Regions from separate parts of the Homo sapiens genome. Here region 2 is linked to region 1. The links are contacts of gene promoters, found by promoter capture Hi-C in blood cells and fetal thymus (Javierre and others, 2016). All regions are on one chromosome and are shown on one strand. Each heading gives the region's core, a stretch centred on a gene start or on the middle of the fragment in contact. The rest is flanking DNA. Distances are from core to core; before and after follow the strand shown.

Region 1 (4,029 bases), core at 994-3,493:
CATGAAATGTCCATAAGAGGCAAATCCAAAGGACAGAAAGTAGGTTAGTGGTTGCCAAGGGCTGTGAGGAGAAGGTAGCAGATACTGACTACAATGGATAGGGGGTTTCTTTTTGGGGTGATGAAAATATTCTAGAATTAGATATTGGTGATGGCTATACAACCTTGTGAATATACCAAAACCCAGTGAACTGTATACTTTAAAAGGAAAAATCTTATAGTTTGTGACTTATATTAAGATCTCAATAAAAAAGATCACATATTTACAAATGACTAAAGAAAAAGTCGCAGTTTAAATGGATGTATACTAGGACTGCATTTACAAATTTAATCAACCATTATTTGTGGTTATCCCTGCCAAGAATTTCACAATTAGCTCAAAAAATTGAGAGGTAACTGTTAACCCCAAATATGAAAAGTATCATACATATATCTTACCTAGCGCACTTTGCTATGATGACATAATAAATTAATTCAAAGTCAAACATACCTATTTCTTTAGTTATGCTAATTATATATTTTATAGTGAAGTAGCAAAGCCTTAAGAATATTATTAAATTGGCATTTAACATCTACATTCCCTATTAATGGGTCATAATAAATCAGAACTGCAAATTGGTTGGATAATGGTCTGCACTGAGATCCAGACACCTGATTCCCTCATTTCATTCTGTAATTTCAGTTAGTTAACAAGTACAAAGCAACTGTTGTATTAGTGCACCATCTTGGGTAGTTAAAAATTCTAATTTTAAACAATATCCGCCATCCTTTTCATTACCACTAATGTTATAGAACTATATAACATTGGGAATATATATATAACTATATAACATAGCCGACTGCTAAATAAAGAAAATACCACATATAGATTCTGAATTTGAAAGGAATCTATCATGTCTAGATTCTGCATTTGAAAATAATCTATCTTCACTTCAGGGGACAGGAAAAAGTCTTGGAGTTCCAAATACCCCCAGTGATTTTTGGAAGTATTTACTGACATAAGATAAACTGTTTACAATTGTGGAGTGAATGCTCTTTTCTCTGAATCTCTGACTTCCTGTTTCTCTTCCAAATCCCAAAAAGGAAAGAAAAAGAAATGAAAGAATTATTCTACTTAGGCTTACCCTGATGAAGCGCAGCGTTAGTCTCTATGATATTCTTTAGTTTTTGCCTCTTAAGGGACAGCTTAACTGGGCTGGGTAATCGTGTGTGTGAGTGTGTGTGTGTGTGTGTGTGTGTGTGTGTGTGTGTGTGTTAAAAGATCTTTCTCGACGAGACTGAGGCATGCCTTGTTTAAGGAACCTTCTGACCACCACCTAGCCACCTAGCCCCACTTGGGCAACGCCTGCCCTTCGGTGACCCTGCCCAGAACAGCCGAGCTCCTCACTACATACTCCTCTGGGACACACCGCTGTGCGGGCCAGGCTTCCAAGACTGGCATTTTCACAAAGAAAGCAGTGACCCTCAGGTAGCCCACCACCAGAGCTTTTCCAATGTAAGTGGTTCGACTTCTATTTCCACAGCGTTACGCACAACAATATCGACGGGTAAAAAGTGTTGTCCTTTAAAAAGTGCCCCACTAACTTCGGGGACAGTGGTTTCCGGGTAGGTCACCTTAGGGTGCTTTGACGTGCCAGCAACTCGAGGTGTACAAAATGCTTCTTTAAAGTTTTGAGTTTAAAGTTTCGCCCCGGAGATCCTGGTGGATCTCCCGAAGCCTAAGGCGAGCGCGGCATCCCTGACCGCGCGGGTCCCTCGGCTCGGGGACCCTGGGCTGCCCCGCTGCGCCCCCGGGACCGCTCGCGCCGCGCCAGAAGCCCGGGCCCAGTGTTTCCAAACAGAACGTCACGGGAGCCCACGGGCGCGAGGGACCGCCGGCCACCGCCCCCTGCCCACCTCTCCCGGCGACATCCAGACTTGGGGGCCGACTCTGGGCTGTGGCGGGAGGTGCAGCGGCGGATCCCGAGTCAGCCCGCTCCGTCCCTCTCGTCCCCGCCTTCCCGCTCCTCCCGGCGCCCCAAACCTCGGCCCCGCGAGCCCCCCTGGACGGGGCGCCCTCAAGGGGGCGGGGATCCCAGGGTGGCAGGAACTCTGGAGTGGCCCCTCGTCCCCGGGCTTTCTCACCTGTCTATCTCAGCAGCGGGTCCCCGGCCGCAGCGCCCGATGTCCCGGCCGCGACTGGCCCCCGGGATCCCCGGACTCTCAGCCCGCGCCCGCCTCAAGCCGAGCTCGGAGAGGGCGGGGAAGGGCACCGCCTCCTCCAGGGACTGGCAGCCGGTGTAGCCAATGGGAGACCACAGCCGACCACCGGGCGTCACCGGGGGTGTGGCTATAACTTTGGCTCCTCCCAGTCCCTGCCCCAGGAGGGAGCTCTGTCCTGGAGTGGTACCCCTAACGTCCCAACTGCGAGACTCCAGAGCTTGCTGCAGCGGCCGGTCACCTTCATTCCACTCCGTCTGCCTGGACTGTTGCAGCACCCTCCCTTGGTCTCCCAGTCTGAAGTCTCTCCTCTTGCCAATCCACCCTTCATCTTCCTGCCAGGTTAATTTCCTTAAGAGCAGTTTTGATGAACAGTGTGCCAAAGACTTTCATTGGCTTCCGTTTGCTTAAATTATCAAGAACAGATTCCCTAGTCTAGTGTTCAAGGTCTCCATCCCGTCTTTTCAGGTTTATTTCTCACAGCTGCCCTTCACACACCTGAGACTACTGCTGTGCACCTCGCCACCCGAAGGAAGTGGCACTAGGAGCGTTTACATGCTATTTCCTGTCTCCACTTCAAAAAGCTCAGAATAATCTTCTCACCGGGCGCAGTGGCTCACGCCTGTAATCCCAGTACTTTGGGGGACCGAGGCAGGTGGATCACTTGAGGCCAGGAGTTCGAGACGAGCCTGGGCAACATGGTGAAACCCTGTCTCTACCAAAAAAAAAAAAAAAATATATATATATATATATATATATACACACAAAAAAAAAAAATTAGCTGGGCTTGGTGGCGCTCACTTGTAGTCCCAGCTACTCAGGAGGCTAAGGCTGGAGGATTGCTTAAACACAGGAGATGGAGGCTGCAGTGAGCCGCGATCATGCCACTGCACTGGATCCTGGGCGACTGGGCGAGATCCTGTCTCAAATCATCATCATTATCATCATCATCATCATCATCATCTTCTCCATGTAACTATGTCTGTCGCTCCACCTGGCAGAAATGTCGTCTCTGGGCCGGGCGCAGTGGCTCATGCCTGTAATTCCAGCACTTTGGGAGGCCGAGGAGGGCAGATCACGAGGTCAAGAGATCGAGACCATCCTGGCCAACATGGTGAAACCTGGTCTGTACTAAAAATACAAAAATTAGCTGGGCGTGGTGGTGCACGACTGTAGTCCCAGCTACTCGGGAGGCTGAGGCAGGAGAATCGCTTGAACCTGGGAAGCGGAGGTTGCAGTGAGCCAAGATAGCACCACTGCACTCTAGCCTGCCTACAGAGCAAGACTCCATCTGAGACAAAAAAAAAAAAAAAGGTCTTCTCTGGTTTCTGCTCCCTGAACATCTAGATTTTTGCCTCTCTTGGGGCTTAGCTCCCTCTGCCTTATGCACAGCTCCTCACATCTCTTTTAGACTGTGAGCACTTTGAAAACAAGGATTTGTGGTTTTTTTTTTTTTTTTGCATTCTCCTCAGCACAGAGCATATTGCATAAGTAAATTAGTGATAATTTAAATCCAGGTGAATTTTACATCCCAACTTAGGGTCTGGAGAGGTCAATCTCAGGGTAAAATAAAGAGAATTCTGAATGTTATGGATAATCGTTCCCCAGGTCACAAAGCTAGGTCAGACAGATTATTCTCTTTGGTTCACAGTTGGCCAATAGAGAGTATCAGAAAAACTTTTTCTACTACAATCTTTTTTTTTTTAACTTTATCTCATCTTATATAAAACACACACACACACACACACACACACACACACACACACACACACACACAGAGGATGGGCACAGTGGCTCATGCCTGTAATCCCAGCATTTTGGGAGACCAAGG
Region 2 (3,852 bases), core at 628-3,127, 700 kb after region 1:
GACTTGAGTCAGGGGAGAAGTCACAGGAGGAAAAATGTGTTCCCGTCTGAGATGAACTCACTCCACCTAGACATTATGGAGTATGGTAGATGAGGTTGTGGGAACTATGAAGCCACCGCTTGAGAGTGCTTGTGCTTGGCATTTTGCAGAATTTCTGGCATGGCTGCCCCTGGTCAGCAGTGAATCTGAGAAAATCTGGGACCTCTGTGGCCCTGGCCTTGTCCTGTGGGACGGGCCTCCTGGAGCCAAGGGGGACTGGAATTGAGTCCACGTTGGATGTCGAGTCATTCTGGGAAGGGCTAGCTGTGGTTTCCAGGCCCTCTAAAAGGCTGCCCAGATACTGACCAAGAGGAGCCCAGAGATGGCCAGGCCAGAGCGAGTGCCAGAGCAGGTTGTCCTGCGGCCCAGAAAAAACTCTGATTCTAAAATCCTGAAGGTGCTTTGCCTCCAAGGGGCCTGCACGTTGAGGGACTTTTGAAAACAGGAGAGCTTTTCCACCATTGTCTCAGGGGCCTGTGCCCTTGCTTACAGAAAGAGTTAGACAGCAGCTCAATACATCCTTCCTAAGCACCTCTCTTCTACCCAATCCAGAAGCAGGCACAATGGGGAGAACGAGGGGAAGAGCTGAGAAGCTTTAAGGCTCAGGGTGTAGGAGCTTTGAGAGGCCATGGAGACCAACATGCCTTTTGAAGTAAAAATTCCTGCAACCACATCCCTGGTCATTAGATGTGGTCTTTGTCCTCTCAGAACAAACAGTTTAACAAAACCAAAGACATAAGCAGTGTTCCGGGGACTGGCAGTGTGCACATGGAGGCAGGGGGTTGTGGAGGCAGGGGGCTGTGCAGCCTGGAGTGTAAGTGCCAGGGGGGTCCTGAGCCCAGGGTGACCAGGGTGACCCATGCGAGTGGGACCATGTAGGACTGGAAGTGGGCCATCCAGACTAATAGATGGGAGTGTGAAGTGGGGAGTGTGAAGTGGTTAAATAATAATCATAAAAAGACACCAGGAGGAGGAAGAGGAAGGGGAGGGAGAGGGGAAGGGGAAGAACGAGATGATTAGAGAGACAGCAAGTTCCTCAACTCCCAAATCTCTGCTGCTTAAAATCCCACCATTAAATATTCATTTTGGGGAATTAAGTTTTGTGTTCTCTATTTTCATCTTTCAGAATGAAGCTTTCCTTGCTGAGAGAACATGTGAGGGCCCAAACAGGACATAAGAGGCTGAAAATCAAATAACAGGCAGATAGGAGAGGAATGAAGACAAACTCTGCCAATGTCACAATTTTTGCCGGAGATTAGCCAGTATGGCCAGCTGCTAGCCATGTCAACAGACAGGCTATGCAAGTACAGAGAAGACAGGGGAGGTCAGTGTGGACTAGGGGGTCAGGGAAGGCTTCATAATCCATTTGGGTCTTTACCCCCATTGACCTCAGGAAAACCCTGACATTTCACTTTGTTTCCCTGAAGTTCAGCCCTCCAAACAAATCTCCAAAATCAAGAGAGAAGCAAGGTCACTCTGACGCGCTGTGTTCTTGTTGACTTGTACAGCCTCTCCTTTCCAAAGCTCCCATCAGAGAAAAGCCCTTGAGAAGGTTTCACAGCAAAATTGTGAAGGTGCTGGGCTCTGAAGCCAGGCTCCACTGGCTGCATCTATGACCTTGACCTCCATCTCTCTGAAGCCCAGTTCCCTTATTTGTAAAATGGAACTGATGAGAGTACAGTCATTCTTTGGTGTCCGTGGGGGATTGGTTCTAGGACCCTCACTCCCCCAAGGATACCAAAATGTGACGGTACTCAAGTCCCTGATATAAAATGGTGTAGTATTTGCATATAACCTACACACATCCTCCCTATATTTTAAATCATCTCTAGATCACTTATACTTCCTGCAATGTAAATGCTATATACATAGCTGTTATACTGTATTGTTTAGGGGATGACAAGGAAAAAAAAGTCTGTTCATGTTCATCACAGATGGGACTATCTTTTTTTTTTCTCAAATAGGGTATTATCAATCCATGGTTGGTTGAATCCATCGATGCAGAGCCCACAGGTGTAGAGGGCCAACTGTATTTATTTCATAGGATTGTCATGAGAGCTGAACTATAAAATACACTTGAAGTACTTGGAATGCCAGGGACTGGGCATAGTGGCTCATACCTGTCATCCCAACACTTTGGAAGGCTGAGGCAGGAGGATCAATTGAGTCCAGAAGTTCAAGACCAGACTGGGCAATATAGTAAGACCTCATCCCTACAAAAAAAAAATTTAAAAATTAGCTGGGTGTGCTGGTGCACAGGAGGCTGAGATGGAGGGATCATTTGAGGCAGGAGGTCAAGGGTGCAGTGAGATGTGATCACATCACTGCCCTCCAGCTTGGGCAACAGAGCAAGACTCTGACTTGGAAAAAAAAAAAAAAAAAGCACGCCAGCCATTATGCTTGATAAATTTTGTTATTACTATCACTGATTTTCTGCAACTAGCCAAAGAATTCCTTGTCTACCTAACCAGAATGATTTTCACATTGTTCTTCCATTAATTCGATACTTACTTTCTGGGCACCTACTGTGAGTGGGAAGCTTTTCCGTCCTCAAGGAATGTACAACCCAAGTAGGAACAGTGAGACATTATCTTAAAGAGCGACAACATGGTGCAGGGGACAGGGATGTGAGTTGAACCTACAATGTTCCTGTATCAGTTAGGATTAGATCGGGCTACAAGCAAACTGAAAAGCCAACAGGATGGTGTGTTAAACAAGGTGAGAGTTTATTTTCTTCTCCTGTAAACAAACTCAAGAGGTAAACAGTCACAGGCTGGTGTCGTGGCTCAACCCTCGTTAAGGGTCCAGACTGTCCTCAACACGTGGCTTCTGCTCCAGGACACAGTATGGCACTTGAGCTCCAGCCCCGCCATCCTCATCTTCATCCTCATCATCATATTCATTCCAGCCACACTTGTAGAGCTTGTGCCAGGAACCCTTCTACTCACTCTTCAAATATGAATTCACGTAATCCTCACAGAATATCTACTGTTACGTAGATTTTCTTTTTATTCCCATTTTACTGCAAAGGAAACTGGCACAAAAGGGTTAGGTACTTGTCCAAAGTCACACAACTCATAGGTGGCAGGACTAGGATTTGAACTCCGCCAGCCTGGCTCCAGAGTCCATCTAGCCAGAGGAAGCAAAGAAAGGCATTCTCCTCCCTTTAATGTCGCTTTGGCCAGAACCTAATCACGTGCCCCTTCCAACTGCCAGGAAGGCTGGGAAATGCAGTCTTTATTTAGGACAGCAAAAACCCGGGAGTTCTATAACTGAGAAAGATGGGGAAATAAATCCTGGGGACCAATTTGTAGTCTCTGGCATGGACCCCTCTAAATGCACCCTTTCACCCAAAGTGAGACACCCTCAGCAATAATTCTGTATAACATGACCCTTCCCTTTGCCCCTGCCCCTAGAGAGGCTGGTCAGGGCTGAACTGGGATGAAGGAGGAGATTCCATCTTTCCATGTCAGACTGTGGCGTGTACCCTTGAGTACCATAAACAGTGGATTCCAGCCAAGTCTGCAAGGCCACAGTCTACAGAGAGAATAATTAAATGAATGTTCAGAGAGAGAACCCTACCCAAGCAGTATTTCCAGACGCCAGTGCCAGGGTTTCCTGAGGTGCTGTGCATTCCTGCCCTGGGACGCTGCAAGGCCCATTCACACGCTTGTGATAAGAATCCCCTTGTTTGGGCTGGGCGTGGTGGCTCATGCCACTAATCCCAGCATTTTGAGAGGCCAAGGTGGGAGGATCGCTTGAGACCAGCCTAGGCAAGATAGACCCTGTCTCTAAAAGAAAAAAAAAAAATCC

The links. Contacts are between HindIII fragments. The CHiCAGO score rates a contact against its expected background, and 5 or more counts as called.
Region 2: a contact is called between a fragment that was not itself captured here and the fragment with the promoter of PLEKHH2 in region 1, in 6 of 17 cell types (total CD8 T cells, activated CD4 T cells, naive CD8 T cells and 3 more). The highest score is 9.6, in total CD8 T cells.

What each region holds. Positions count from the first base shown.
Region 1 is chr2:43,635,474-43,639,502 of GRCh38, reverse strand. It overlaps PLEKHH2 (pleckstrin homology, MyTH4 and FERM domain containing H2), which reads right to left and starts at 2,243. Exons shown (of 30, transcript NM_172069.4): 1 at 2,124-2,243. RefSeq lists a silencer at 2,010-2,339. The HindIII fragment of the contact is 11,276 bases long and covers 1-4,029 here.
Region 2 is chr2:42,939,378-42,943,229 of GRCh38, reverse strand. LOC112268413 (a long non-coding RNA gene) reads right to left here and starts at 2,197. Exons shown (of 3, transcript XR_002959381.2): 1 at 2,160-2,197. The HindIII fragment of the contact is 1,406 bases long and covers 1,175-2,580 here.